Regions from separate parts of the Homo sapiens genome. Here region 1 is linked to region 2. The links are contacts of gene promoters, found by promoter capture Hi-C in human tissues and cell types (Jung and others, 2019). All regions are on one chromosome and are shown on one strand. The core of a region is centred on a gene start or on the middle of the fragment in contact, and the rest is flanking DNA. Distances in the headings are between cores, read along the strand shown.

Region 1 (2,855 bases), core at 163-2,662, 52 kb before region 2:
CAACCTGAGCCATAGTTTATTCTGCCCTTGGCTATGGTGAAATGGTTCAAGAACAGGCACATGACCCAAGCTGAGCCCATCAGAGACTTACTTCTCTGGGATTTCTGAATTGGAACTAACAGAAGGGACTCCTTTCTTAATGCTAGTGATATTAGGGAATGAAGAAATCTAGACTAGCACAATGTCATCAGCACTAGAGAGGAGATGTGGAAAGAAAGAATCCTGGTAGTATCCAAGTCCCTTGTCCCAAGCCTTCATCTCCTTCCCTTAATTTGGTTTCATGAGCTGGTACACTATTTTCACTAGCCTAGCTCGAGTTGGGCTTTATTATATGCAACTGGAAGTGTTGACTCCCATAAGAGAGTAGCTCTCAGATCCAGAGTAGAAGCTTTCCCATGCCTGGGGTTCCTATGCCAGGCTAGAGAAGAGGATTCAGACCCCATAATTTGTCCCTTTCCATTCTTTGTCCCTGACACATAGGCCCTTTTGACCAGAAGACCATCCATTATTTGTGGTTTAGGTCTATGGTCAACTGCCTATAACTCTGAAAAACAACAATATTACAGAAAATGTGTATCAGCTGGCATGCTCACTTCTGGAGCCCCCATGGGTCATTGGCAGCAGAAGTAGAAGAGTCCAGGGTCACAGTCATTCCTCTAATTTTGAGTGTAAAACCAAAATCACCCATGCAGAGGCCTCACAAGTATCTTCCTGTCAGCTCCTGGCCTAATAGCCTTTACACACCCTTGGCAGGGGCTTGCCCAACCACATGGGCCGTCTTTCCACAAACAACTTGACCACCTCTGCTGCCATCAGTATGCTCCAGATCCACCCTACCAAGAATCACCCAGCAGAAACTGAGCCAGGCAGGTGGGGCCTCTTGGTGGCACAAATCCAGAGCAGCGAGGTAAGGGAGCAGGCCTTAGCCACTGCCCATGGGTGGATGGAAAGAAACAGTCATCTTTCAAATGCAGGATCCTGACTGCAAATGACAGGCTGGCCTGGCATCACTGCAGGAAGATAGAGGGGAGAGAGAGGAGGCCAGACAAGGAGGGCTCTTTAGTCTTTGGAGGCACCTGGCTGCTTCTCAGTCAGCAGCAGGTTTTCATCCTCAATCCAAACTCCAGTTAAAGCAAGAGAAGGGAGATACAGGAATGAGAATATGGCACCCACTCCCTGCAACCCCAGCTACTCCCTATAACCCCAGCTACTTCTGATACCCTCTTAACCTGACTTTTAAACTGTTTTCACTTATGGATGTCATGCTCTAAATTATATGCCTGTGGCCAGATATAGAAGGACCACAGATCACACACACTGGAATATTTTATAAGCAGCTATAATTTGATGACTAAAAAACTGATATGCTTTATATATTATTTATGAGCGCAAATGTCATGCCACACAAAGCTATTTCAGTCCCTTTGAAAGAATGCTTTGCTGGTCTGGTTATATAAGGTAGGCCTGGCTGAGTGCAGTGGCTCACGCCTTTAATGCCCGCACTTTGGGAGGCCAAAGCGGGTGGATCACCTGAGGTCAGGAATTTGAGACCAGCCTGGCCAAAATGGGTGAAACCCCATCTCTACTAAAAACACAAAAATTAGCCAGATGTGGTGGCACGCACCTGTAATCCCAGCTACTCAAGAGGCTGAGGCAGGAGAATTGCTTGAACCTGGGAGACGGAGGTTGCAGTGAGCCGAGTTCACAGCACTGCACTCCAGCCTGGGCGACATAGTGAGAGTCCGTCTCAAAAAAAAAAAAAAGGTAGGCCTGATGGATGAAGAACTGAGTAGCCCACCCTGCAGCCATGCCCACCTACTATTGACTCTCCAAAACCATCACTTAACTTTCAAGCTGCCAAGAAATGTCCTTTTGGCTGGAATGTTCTCCCTTGAAATCAAGTTCATCTTTCAAGGTTCTCATCAAAATCTCCTCCTCGATGAAGCTGAGGTGAACCCAGCCCATTGTGTCAGGTCCCCATCACAGCAGATCTGACCTGCTCTGTTGCCAGTGGAGTGTGCATCTCACTTTCCACTTCAGATTGTGAGCACCTTGAGGGCAGTAACTATGTGATAATCCTCCATGTCCTCAGCTTTCAGCACAGCACCCGGCACATAATAGATGCTCACTACAGTTTGTTGAATTGATGCGCATACACTAAGTGCCTACTCAGGTTTTTATCTCTTCAAACAGAGTCTGGCTTTGTGCTACTTACATTCTAGGTGGAGATGAAAGAGCCACACTGGAGTAGAATTGGAGTTTATTTATTTGCAATTCCTTTCTCCTGCCATCAATTAGCAATTATTTTCCAACTCCCATTCTTCAACATAAAATATACTCGCATGCTCGTGCATGTGCACACATGCACATATACACCCTAAACTCTAAAGCCCTAAATTCCAGAATATGAGAAATAAAGTGTGGGGTGCAGATAGGATCTCGACCATTGCACTATTTCCTTACTGGTTTCTTATTACAATATTTTTTTCATACATTAATTTATACTGAGATATTGGGCCTCCAGACAGCTCTTGGTCTTCCTGATTAGAATTGTATTTTTCCCAAGAAATTCCTTTAATAAAATTGATTTAAAAATGGCCACCATGAGCCCCGCTGGAATTTGCTATAAGGAGTCTTTGCCTGTATAAAAAAGTGGATTCCAATTTGCTTCTGGCTAGACTTGTCAAGACACAAAGGTCTTGCTTTAACATATCTGTGAGGCTGTTAAGTCTGTAGAGGGGTGGCTGCCAGGAAAACTGGCATATTAGTCAGGGACTGCAGCGTGAGCCCAGAGACAGCTGTATTCCAGAGTTCAGAGACACCAGAACTGAAAATGGGCACGTGGTTTCCATCAC
Region 2 (2,760 bases), core at 259-2,758:
TAACCGCATCCAGGAGCCTCTGCCTTCCGTCTGCATCCACAGAGCCCCAGCTCCCACCTCTCCACTCACCAGCCCTGATGGAATAATGTCAATTCATGACCTTGCGCAACCGTGCACCTTTCAGCAATGATGTTGTCACAATTTACCTGCCAGCTGATTGCATCCAGCACTGAGTTGTTCCATTGTGCACTGGCCCAGGGACCATATGCAGTAATAACAACTACGTATTCTGCATCTATTATGTTCTGGGCACTATGCTCTGAGATTTATCTCTAATTCTCATACCAACCCTGAAAAATAAGGTGCCAGTAAATGCCATTTTACAGATGAGAAAACTAAGGTTCACAGAGTTTACCGGCCCAAAACAACACAGGCAGAGCTAGGATTCAAATCTATCTTACCTAGTTCCAAAGCTCATCCATGCTCTTCTCTCTATACCTCACCATCTCTGAACAAGAGTTCAGGCTGGGTGTAGTGGCTCACATCTGTAATCCTAACACTTTGGGAGGCTGAGGTGGGCAGATGGCTTAAGCCCAGGAGTCCAAGACCACCCTGGGCAACACAGCACAACCCTGTCTCTACAAAAATATGTAAACATTAGCTGGGTGTGGTGGCACGTGCCTATAATCCCAGCTACTTGGGAGGTTAAGGTAGGAAAATCACCTGAGCCCAGGAAGGTTGAGGTTGCAGTGCACTGTGATCGCACCACTGCACTCCAGTCTGGGTGACAGAGTGAGACTCTGCCTCAAAAAAAATAAGAGTTCAAAAGGTGATGGGGGGGCCAGATGCAGTGGCTCATGCCTGCTATCCCAGCACTTTGGAAGGCTGAGGCAGATGGATCACCTGAGGTTGGGAGTTTGAGACCAGCCTGACCAACATGGAGAAACCCCATCTCTACTAAAAATACAAAATTAGCCAGACATGGTGGCACATGCCTGTAATCCCAGCTACTCGGGAGGCTGAGGCAGGAGAATCACTCAAACCCAGGAGGTAGAGGTTGCAGTGAGCTGAGATCATGCCATTGCACTCCAGCCTGGGTGACAGAGCAAGACTCCATCTCAAAAAAATAAAATTAAAAAAGGTGGTGGTGGAGGGATCTGAAATATGAGATCCAGACACTTAGGGTCCACAGCCTCAACTTCTCCCTCAGTTCCTCCTGATCAGATGTAAGGCCCCTCCACCTTGTATGTCACTCAACAGCAAGCCCGCTTCCTTACCGTGGGCCGCTTCCAGATGATGCCTTGAGTTTGCGGAGAGCCTGGTCCAAGATCCTTGTAGCCCAAAGCTGATGGACATGCTGGGAACTCAGGGTCCTTAAATAGGACCCCTGAGTCCAAGCACTGTTGCCTCAGGGTCTTGAAATCCTGGCCCAAGTACTTCAAAGCGTTTTGGTTGGAGCCAAGACCTTGAGTGGCTGCCCGCTGCCTAGATACACCAGCTGCCTGGGCTGCCATGGCCGTGGGCTCTGTAGGGTGGACAGAAGGGCAGGGCTGCACTGTACTCTCAGACACCTGCTCCACTGGGAGGGGAGCTATAAGGCACTAAAGGAGGTGGAGCAGACAAACATTTCACCTGAGGCCCTGTTCCAGAAGGAAGTGAGTCATGGCCAGGGACAAATATGTACCCAAGGTCCAGGCCAATCTGCCCCACCTTCTTCTTCTGCCTTTTGCAAATAATTTGGGGTCTGGGAACTTTCCAGGGCCCATCCCAGGCCATTAGCCTAAGAAATCCATTAGGATCTTGACCCCACCCCGGCATTCCCTCCACACACCTCTTTGCAAGACCTGCTTACCTTGCTTCAAGCCCATTGACTGAGATGAGAAGGCTTATTGAGCAGCTTGAAGCAAATATTCATCAAGGAATTGGAGGCATGGCTCTGAGCAGGAAGAAGGCAAGTAGTTACAGGGGCCTCCTTTCCTGCCAGAAATGTTTTGGTGCATATTTCCTAGGAAGGCAAAAAATACCAGAGAGTAGTGATTCACAGGCCAGATTTGGAATAAGCCTGACTGGAGGAGGTTCCACCTGTGAGTGAACGCTTTGGCCTCTGACTGCCTCGGTTTCTATCCCAGCTCCCCCGGTAATTTGCTCTGTCATGTTGGGCAAGTTGTTTAACCTCTTTTCTCCTAAGTTTTTTTATCTATAAACTGGAAGAGCATAGGAGAGCCTACCACAAAGGGTTGTTCGGAAGAGTGATGAGATAGTACATGTCATCTGCTTAGAACAGTATGAAGTAACATTCAGTGAATGTCAGGTATCACTATTCCTTGAAGCCAGGATTCCCAGAAAGGCCTTGGAATCAGGAGCCTTGATTCCAATCTCAGAAGTGAGTTACAAGCTGTATGACCTTGGATTAGTCACTTCTCTCTGGGCTCCAGTTTCCTACATCTGGTCTACCCGAAGGATGTCAACCACACCAATGCTTTTTGAACTTCAGTGTTTGTGGCACACTAGAAAATGGTCCCCCAAGGATACCAGGTCCTCATCTTGAGAACCTGTAAATAGTCCCTTATCTGGGAAAAGGGTTTTTGCTGCTATGACTAAGTTAAGGATCTCGAGATGGGAAGATTATCCTGACCCTAAATACACAAGTGTCCTAAGAGGAAGGCAGAAGAAGATTTGACAATAGACAAAAAGGAGAGGTGATGAAATGAGGCAGGCAGAGGTTAGCGAGATCCTGCCCCACTCCAGGGAACACCAGCAGCCACAGGAGCTGGAAGGGGCAAGAATGGATTCTCCCCTAGAGCCGCTGGAGGGATGTGG

The links. The method cuts DNA at HindIII sites, captures the fragments that hold promoters and counts their contacts. A contact is called where the count stands out against the background at its distance.
Region 1: a fragment that was not itself captured here is called in contact with the fragment with the promoter of CAPN8 in region 2 in 1 of the 25 tissues and cell types used here (neural progenitor cells).

What each region holds. Positions count from the first base shown.
Region 1 is chr1:223,612,651-223,615,505 of GRCh38, forward strand. The region is part of intron 10 of CAPN8 (calpain 8); the gene reads right to left. Among named protein-coding and RNA genes, the nearest start is that of CAPN8, 52 kb to the right of the region's middle. The HindIII fragment of the contact is 3,236 bases long and covers 1-2,855 here.
Region 2 is chr1:223,664,193-223,666,952 of GRCh38, forward strand. CAPN8 (calpain 8) reads right to left here and starts at 1,509. Exons shown (of 21, transcript NM_001143962.2): 1 at 1,218-1,509. The coding sequence starts at 1,454. The HindIII fragment of the contact is 26,634 bases long and covers 1-2,760 here.